Linked DNA regions of Homo sapiens: region 1 is linked to region 2. The links are contacts of gene promoters, found by promoter capture Hi-C in human tissues and cell types (Jung and others, 2019). All regions are on one chromosome and are shown on one strand. The core of a region is centred on a gene start or on the middle of the fragment in contact, and the rest is flanking DNA. Distances in the headings are between cores, read along the strand shown. Region 1 has its middle 57 kb from the start of EMP1. Region 2 holds the start of GRIN2B (glutamate ionotropic receptor NMDA type subunit 2B).

The links. Contacts are between HindIII fragments. The study calls those that stand out against the background at their distance.
Region 1: a fragment that was not itself captured here is called in contact with the fragment with the promoter of GRIN2B in region 2 in 1 of the 25 tissues and cell types used here (mesendoderm cells).

Annotation. Positions count from the first base shown.
Region 1 is chr12:13,251,121-13,255,681 of GRCh38, forward strand. No RefSeq gene overlaps it. Among named protein-coding and RNA genes, the nearest start is that of EMP1, 57 kb to the left of the region's middle. The HindIII fragment of the contact is 3,421 bases long and covers 1-3,364 here.
Region 2 is chr12:13,980,198-13,985,318 of GRCh38, forward strand. GRIN2B (glutamate ionotropic receptor NMDA type subunit 2B) reads right to left here and starts at 1,405. Exons shown (of 14, transcript NM_000834.5): 1 at 1,145-1,405; 2 at 1-159. The HindIII fragment of the contact is 12,156 bases long and covers 1-4,804 here.

The DNA of each region.
Region 1 (4,561 bases), core at 404-2,903, 730 kb before region 2:
TAAACACCTGGGCTGTTACACAGCAGGAATAGCGGACAGGTCAGAATGGATGTTGAGAGGCAACTCCATTTCCCGCTACAAGAGTTCAGAGGCGGTCTATCAGAAATAATGAGCTTCAAACTGGGCATTGCGTTCCAACTTGCACATGATAAGTGGTCACCATACAAAGTCAGTGACAGAATACATACCTCCCCAAGCCTCGCTCCTCCCTCCTTCTTCCAGCTAAATCCTTTGGTCTAAAACATACAGTTTGTTATTCTGCAAAATAAATAAAAAGGATACACTGTCACACAGTTGCTTTGAATGGGATGAAAAAAATGAATGAACAAACCAATGGTTAAAATTCTGTACAAATGGACTGCACACCAAATGGGAACAGGCATGATGCAGAACACCTGAGTAGCTGGGGTTACGGGCATGCACCACCGTGCCAGCCTGGATTTTTGTATTTTTAGTAGATATGGGGTTTCACTATGTTGGCCAGGCTGGTCTTGAACTCCTGGCCTCAAGTGATCTGCCCGCCTCCCAAAGTGCTGGGATTACAAGCATGAGCCACTGCGCCCAGCCAGCAGATTGCCTTTGGACTTGAACTCCAACTCTTCCTGGTTTCCAGTCTGCTGGCCTACTCTGCAGACTTTGGACTTTCCAAGCTTCCACAATCACGTGAGCCAATTTCTTAAAATCTCTCTCTCTCTCTATCTCCCCACACCTATCCTGTTGGTTCCATTTTTCTGGAGAACCTTAACTGACACAGATTATCCCCTGGGGTACTGATGATAAAATTGTGGCAAAAAACAATATGTTGTCCGGGAGCCTATGTTGTTTTCTAACAGTAGCAGTTGTGCACACCTCGGCCATGGTGACAGATAAAACTTGTGCATCTTCCAACTGATAACTGTTACTACTGGTCCTGGAGACTCATTACTTTAGGGAACTATAAGCAGTTTATGCATTTTCAAAACCACTGGGGTGGTCAAACAGACTAGAAAGATCATATTCCTAGGATCTATTTATGGGAGCAAGCATAGAGTGATCAGGCCAGGCAATAAGACCAGGCACCAGAGCAAGATTCAATAAACTGACTGGACTATGATTCAACTGAATCATTGTTTCTGGAGTCTCTGTGCCTTTGTACATGCTGTTCCCTCTGCCTAGAAGAGTCCTACTTTCACTATGTATTAGTCAGGGTTCTCCAGGAAAACAGACCAATGGGATATGTATATATCCAGAAATAGATTTATTTTAAGGAATAGGTTCATGCAATTATGTCAAGTCCAAAATCTGCAGGATGGGCCAGCAGGCTGGACACCCAGGGCAGAGCCAATGTTGCAGTTCATTTCTGAAGGCCATCTGCTGGCAGGATTCCTTCCGGCTCAGGGAGATCAGTCTTTTGCTCTATTCAGATAATTGAGTGAGGCCCACCCACATTAAGGAGGGCAATTTGCTTTACTCAAAGTCCATCTATTTAAATGTCAATCTCATCTGAAAACACCCTTACAGAAACATCCAGAAGATTGTTTGACCGAATATCTGGGCACTGTGGCCCAGCCACACTGACACATAAAATTAACCATCACCTATTGTTTGCTGGGAATTTCTCCCCATTCTTTAAGGTTCAGTTGAAACATCTTGGCAACATCAAGCTGCTTCTTCATTCCACCGCTCGGCCTCAGGACATTCTTATATTTGAATCCCTGTCCCACAGTACTGTAATGATTTACTCACATGCCTGTGGTCTCTCCTAGACAGTGAGCTTCCAATGGCATGGACCATGGGTCTACTGGAGACAATATTGCAAGATGATATTCTAGACTCTACCCAATGCCTAGCATACAGAGTTGTTCAATGCAATTCATAGAAGAAGGTGATAAATTAATGGAGGGGAATCAGGAGCTAGAAATAATAGCAGCATTGAGTTATTTGATCTCCAAATAATGAGCTTCTTCTCCTCTCCACCCCCCGACAAATATTTGTTGCTTCGGAGATGCAACAGAGCTAGCGGATCTACCTGGTCACTCTGTCCCAAGAACACATGTACACACATACCCATATTCATTATGACAGACCATGAAATGATTTGCCAAGTCAGCCTCTTGCTAAATACCTGAACTTGGGCATGATGCTTACATTCCAAAAGCTTGTTTTCTTTTAAAATCAATCATATGAGAACAACAATAATAATACCTATAGCACAGTGTTGTTAGAAAAATTAAGTGCCTATCATATAGTGGGTCCTTAGTAAAAGTTGATCCTCTTCCCTTAACCATGTTTGTTTTTATTTTTGAGACAGGGTCTTGCTCTGTTGCCAAGGCTGGAGTGCAGTGGTGTGATCTCATCTCACTGCAACCTCCACCTACCGGGTTCAAATGATTCTCATGCCTCAGCCTCCTGAGCAGCTGGGATTACAGGTGCCCACCATGACACCTGGCTAATTTTTGTATTTTTAATAGAAACAGGGTTTCACCATGTTGGTCAGGCTGTTCTGGAACTCCTGACCTCAAGTGATCCTCCCGCCTTGGACTCCTGAAGTGCTGAGATTACAGGCATGAGCCACCGTGCCTGGTCCCCTTGACCATGTTTGAGTTAACATCTAGTATATCGTGCATTAACTATTGAAAGTAACAAAGAACGTGTCAGTGAGTTCCAAAGATACTCTTAATGTCTCTTGATGACCTGGCCTTCTTATTTGTCTTCTTTCACTTTTTGACCAAAAGGAAGAACATAGATTGTGTAGGCAGTGGTCCCACACGAAAGAAGGAGAAGATAACTGGTGTGTGCACTATTTTATACTTTATTGAAATCAGTGATTCTTAATCTTGTCAGGAACACAGGCACTTTTGAGGATCTGAAGATAGCTAAGGACTCTTTCCCCAGAAAAATGCATATAAATGTGACACTTTGCATATAATCCTAAGATGTTCATGGACCCCACACACTCAAGGTTAAGAATCCTGAATCAAAATCTCCTCATTTGCTGCCTGTCCCTTGCTTCACATGTTCTGTCTCTCTCTATATATAGATACACACACATGCTCTCTGTTTCTCTCTCTGTATGCGCACAATGTTTCTCTATCTCTCTCTATTTCTGTTTCTCTTCCACATCTATATATTCATTCATCTGCTTAACTCACATGTTTAGGATTAGGATAAAGCTTATGGATGGCTAGGTGGATGGATAGAAAAGTCGAGGACCAGAAGGAGCTGTGGAAAGAAACACTTTAGACAAATTTAACAGAGTTTAATTGGGCAAAGAAAGATTCGTGAATTGGGCAGCTCTCAGAACCAGAATAGGTTCAGAGCGACTCCCGGTATTCACAGAAAAAGGAAAGTGCCATACAACGGAAGTGAGGACAGAAACAGCTGGATTGGCTACAGCTGGGCATTTGCCTTATTTGAACCTGCTTTGAACAGTTGGCTGCCTGTGGTTGGCTGAGACTTAGTTACCTCTTACAAGAGTAGGTTACAGTGTGTTTACGTATGCACATCAAGTTAGGTTACAGTTCATTATGTACAAAGAATGGCTCCTTTTGTAATTATTATTGTTGCTTTCACATGATTGATTTTAAAAGAAAACAAGCTTTCAGAATGTAAGAATCATGCCCAAGTTCAGGCAATTAGCAAGGGGCTGCCACACAAGTCAAAGGCAAATTTAGGCCAAACTTAAAATATGTACAGAGACAGCTTTAGGCCAAACTTAATTTAACAGAGCTGTGGAGTTAGAATGGTTCGTTTATTTTCACAGATATGTCACCTTGGAGATGTTAATCTATTATAAGTCAGAGTATAGTAATGGGTAAACTCACCTCCTGGGGCCATTTAGACAGCTTCACATATTCTGTGCAAGCTTGGACCGGACTATTAATTCTGTCTGTATCTCAGTTTCCCTAACTTTAAAATGGGGATAACAGTAGTTCCACCATCTTGAGCTGTAAGGATTAAATAAACTAAGACATATACAGATTTTAAAATCATGTATTTTAGTAAGCGTTCAGTAACTGTTAGCTTGCATTTTATTTTGATGACTTAAAATCACTTGTACTATAATTAGTTAGATACAAAGGACAGCATTCTACAAATAATAAATTCAACACCACTAAGAGAAAAATTTCACTAGAAATGTCTTTTCAGAAAAAAAGCACTTCCCTTAGGTGATTTACTCTTCAGTAGGGATTTTAAGTTAACAGGGTAGCTGGGATACCAGTCTTGATTTTTTTTTTTTTTCCTGGGAGCCAGTGAAAAAGGAATCCATTGTCTATAACATGTCTTTTCTATAATAACAAGACCTTCTCACTGGGAGAGGAACCCAAGTCTACTTCTAGACATCACTAGCAGGGTTTTTGTCTTTTTGTGTCTTTTACTTAGGAAGGGCCTCTAATTATTTTTATACCAAGGCAAAAGGTTTACTATTATATAAAATTATAAAGCTGACACTTTCTCACGAAAGGTTACTTAAAAGAAAAAAAAGATGAAAAAAGAAGTGTAAACGTGCAGTCATCACTGCTAACACTTCACATTTCTAAGGCAAAAAACTGTCTAAGATTGAATTTATTTTCCCTAATTT
Region 2 (5,121 bases), core at 155-2,654:
GTGCATGTGAGGTTAGTGGCTGGAATAGATTTTTAACGCTTCTTCTGGCAATTACGGTTTTTGGTTTTTGGAGCGTTAGTGGAGGAGGCTCTGTGTGGAGAAGCTGGGGGCCGGCTCCGTCCCTCGGTGGAGCATGGTCATTCCCAAAGCGTCCCCTTCCTAAGGGGGAAAAAGAGGCGGTCAGGGCTTGATTCGCGTGTCCCCCGGAGGGTGAGAAAAATGCATTCCGAAAAAGATATCAATTCGTTTTAAGGAAAGGGGGGAGGAAACCCCGCATTTCCCACAGAGTGCACACGAGAGGAATTGAAAACAGCTGGTACCGGTCTATAAATAATTCAGAAAAGGTCTGGCTATACCATTCCTGGGACAGGCACGGATGAGAGGTGGGAAAGCCAACCTGAATGGAAGAGGAGAGAGGGAGGGAGCGAGCGAAGGAGGGAAGTGGGAAGGAAGGAGGAAGGGGGGGAGAAGCGGCACCATACAGCAACACACACTCACACACACGCAGAAACACAATTCCCACTTAACTCGCCAGCGAGTGCGGCCCCCAGCCCCATCTGCATTGCTGCTGACTTGTCTCGCTCGCTCTCCCCATCGCCTCCAGCAGCAGCGCCGCCTCCCACCCCGGGCTTGTGCTGAATGGGTTCTGATTGTGCACGGGGTGCACACTGGGCATTTCTTGGAAGGGGCACACTGACGCGCGCACACACGCCCCCGACGCGCACGCGCCCCGCGCGCACTCACACTCACCCCCGCGCACACTCACCCCCGCGCACACTCACGCTGCCGCCGCGCTGAGGTGCAGCGCACGGGGCTTCACCTGCAACGTGTCGATTGGACGGATGGGCTCGGCGCGTGGGTCCGGCCCGGGGCGCCGCTGCCCTGCCCCTCTGCTAGGTGAAGGGATGAAACCCCCCAAAAGACCAGAGACAGCCCTACCCAGTCACAGCACCCCCTCCCCCACAAAAAAAAAAAACCTTTAAAAAAGCCACGTCCAAATTAGCAAGTGCCGGGTTCTGCTGGATTTCAGAGCTTTACCTCATGCCAGATTCGTTCACGATTTCACGGCTTCGACCCTTTATCTGCCTGACACCCCCAAACCCCTACATTCAAAGGAGAGACTCCAAAGCCCATCTTTACGTACCGGCTCCGAGCGCCTCCGCGGTTGCAGTCTGCGGAGAGGGGTGGCCGGTGGCTGGGAATGGAGGGTTTTCCTTTCCTGCAAAGCAGGATTAATGATCCGTCTCGGGGGTTTTGAAGTTCATGACTCTTCTTTGCAAGGCAAAAGGATATGCATTCGGACGCCAGCACTACTGGATGGTGGTGATCAAGAATCACCCTTGACGAGCACTCTCGATAGAGCGAAGCCCCGAGATTTCCTAGAGGTGAAGAAGCCGGAGGAAGTGGTTTTTGAAAGGGGGTGGGGGGAACCTTCCTTTCTCAAAAAGAGGTGGGGGGTGGAGAGGCAGGAGCCCAGATTCCAGTTGGTGAGGATCGGAGCCGGGGGAAGGGAAGCGGGCGGGGGCAGGCTGTGCAAGTCAACCGCGCGGCAGCCGGAGAGGGAGAGCAGGAGGGGAGGAGGGGAGCGTCAGAAAAATGGGTATTAATCACCGGGGACGGGGGGAGGCGCGGGGAACGCAGGTTGCCTGGTCTGGATTTGGGTCTCACACTCAAAAACGTGCCGCGCACACACACACAGACACACACACACCCCCTACCTCGCACACCCTGACTCCGGGGGGAGGAGAAACCCACGAAGCTGGGGAAGATACTGCTTCTGCTCCCAGGGGCGGGTGTGAGCGCGCGTGTCCTCTTTCTCCACACCCCCCACCCCACCCCACCCCCAAGCCCCTGCACCCCCTCACTCCTCTTGCTAAGACTCTGGCGGAGGCAGCTTCCCACGTCATGTGCTGGGGAAGTGGGGTGGTAAGGTGGATGGAAGGGGGACGGAAGGGGGAAGAAGCTTAGCCCGAGTCCGTGGCGCCTCCTCCCGGCCGCAGCGGGGAACAGCACCGACGGAGAGCGGCTGAGGGGCGAGGGGAGCTAGACAGTGCCCCCCGTGGGCGGCCCGCGGGCTGCGGAAAGCATCTCCAAGGCGGAGCTGTAGTTCGAAATTGAAGACCCTTGCTGTATTTTCCATAAATCAGCCTGTGCTTCCTACGAGCATTCTGTGTGTCGGACGCAGTCTGGGACCGGGTTCTTTCTTGCCTTCAAGGAGCTTAAGATCTATCTGAGCACACGAGGCTGACGCCTAACACAATAGAAAACAAAGCAAAGCAGGTGTCATTCGTGGCTAAATTGTATAGTATGGACCATACGCGTGCTTTTCTGGCTGCTAGTGAAGGCGGGAGGAGTTTGACATTTTTTATTAAAGTGGATCCTGTTATTTAAATGCCTTGAGAAGAGAAGATGGTGAGGCCCGTGAATAATCCCTAAAGGAAACTGGATTTCCTGGCATTTACAAACCCACCCTCTTTGAAAAGGCAAACATCCATTCATTTCTCTTCCTATTGAACTCTTTTATATTTTAATAGCCCTTATCACCACCTGTAGTATTGTTTACTTTTAACATTAATATTATTGTATATGCATCATTTTCATTCTCATCCATTGTCTTTTCAAATATCTAGAATACTACAGTGGTGGAACATTTTCATATTGGTTATATCATGGGCTTCTCACCAGCATTCCTGAGAAGCGGCCATACAAACGCACAGGAGAGAAGGCTGTGTGAGTGGATATACCTAGTGGCTTGGAACTTTAGTCTGTAGAAGCCATCAGATATGTTTTTGCTGTCCTGTAGACCAGACTACTCATACTTCTGAGCTACAGTAATTCTTCTGTTTCCTGGTTTTTCTCAGGCTTAATTTTTGAATCTAACATATTTAACACACACGAACACATAAGCATTGTGTGAAAACACAAATAGAGTGTGTTCACATGCAAATTATTCCTTCTCAGTAATGGTTTTCTATTTTTCTAAGAGTTAGAACTGATCTTTCACTACTTTGGGGAAGTGTCGAAGCACCCCAGAGTTGCTGTGCCCTCTTGATACACAACAGCCAACCCAAGCCCCTCTAATAATTTGTCTCCAGGGTTTTCAAGTTCACCTGCCTATGGGCAGGTTTGCAGTTGTTAGAACGCCGATTCCAAGAGGAGTATAGAATGCAGAAAGCAAGAACCTAATAGAGATTTCCTGAAACACTCTTCCCTGAATTTTCCAGGAAAATTACCGTTACCTGGTCCATTAGCTTCAGAATAACATCCAAGCTCACTCAAGGATCTTCATGGGTTGACCTTGAATCTACTTTTTAAATTTTTATATTTTTTATTTCTGGCTCATAGCCCACGTTCCCCTTCCTATCCTCAGTCCCTTCACCAAAATTATACTATTCTTCCCTATTTTCTTTCCTTTTCCTCCCTACCTGAACCCTGTTGCAATTCCATTCCACCCTGTTCACTTTTCCAAGTGTACAGGGAAGAATGAACGCTCATACTTCCTCCACCTAATTGAGTCCACACTCCTCTTCAGTTTCCAGCTCAAGTCCCACCTCCTCTGGGGATATTTTTCAGTCAACCAAGCCTGAATTGATTTCTGTAAAAATTGCAAGAATTTTGAAATGAGAGATGACACCTCACCACCATCCCCTCCACTCTCATTTTCTGTATTCAGCAATGTATGGAAGAGTTTGCTTGATCAGTTATCAAACTGACTGGGTGATAACTTATTGCATTCATTAACCAGGTACTGGCCCACTATAGGGAAAAATATTACCTCTGTAGCTATTCATGTTGAACCATGTGAGACTATTGATATTCAATCATACGAAATTGCCAATCATATGAAATAACCATTATTGACATATAATAAAAAGGCAATTTCATAAAGTTAAACTTAAAATTATATTCTGGTGTCAATTTCCTGTCTTCCAAACTAGTTGTTTAGCTCCCTAAGGGGACAGACCATAACCTAAGTCATCCATATATTCCCAGTACCTGGCTCAATTCCAGACATGCAGTAGAGGTTCAATAGATATTTTTTATGACTATTTGAAGCCACTTTATCAAGCAGTTTTTCTGGTTCTGAAATAGCTAATTCTAGGGACCACACAGATTGTGAAGTGGAAAGTAATATCCCTTGCCCATGGCATTCATTGCCCATTGACTACTCAATGGAACTAAGATTCGTCTCCTTTTTTTCTGGCTCCTTGTCACTCACTTGCTCTTCTCACTAATAACCTTTGCCTTCATGGACCATAAGCCTCTCAATAAAACTATTTCAGCCAGGTGTGGTGGCTCACACCCGTAATCCCAGCACTTTGGGAGGCCAAGGCGAGTGGATCACCTGAGGTTGGCAGTTCAAGACCAGCCTGACCAACATGGAGAAACCCCGTCTCTATTAAAAATACAAAATTAGCCAGGTGTGGTGGCACATGCCTGTAATCCCAGCTACTTGGGAGGCTGAGGCAAGAGAATCGCTTTAACCCAGGAGGCAGAGGCTGCGGTGAGCTGAGATCATGCCATTGCACTCCAGCACTCCAACAAAAGCAAAACTCCGTCTCAAAAATAAATAAATAAAATAAAACTATTTCAAGGATCGCCCAGATTCATGAAATTCGAAACACCATTTCTTAGTGTCATAAATATATATTTCCTAACTCCTAGTCCAGCAACACAGAAAACAATATTCTAATGAGACAAAATGTTGCATCATATTTCACAGCATTGCTTATTGAGGAGAAGCTCTTGCTTGAGGCTGCTAATGACACTTTTGGAGGTATTCTGCCAACTCAACCCAAAGAGAGGTTCCCAGAAGATGCAAACACTCTTTTTCATGGCCCAATCAGCAAACGCAAAGCCTATGCCTTGCCTGGCCAACAACAACAAAAAAAGTATGTTTATCTGGCAACATCTTTCAGATCAAACACGGTACCAAAGGCTGGAGCCTGAAGTTTATACAATTTGGAGTCCCTCTTTAAGAGAAAGAATAAAAAATTAATTGCAAAAGTGAATATCCACTTAGAAAATAAATCACAACAATTTAAAAATTCTTTAGTAGTTATAAACACCACAAAAATTAAAAATTTAAATAATAATCTCTAGTTAACTGCATATTTCTGT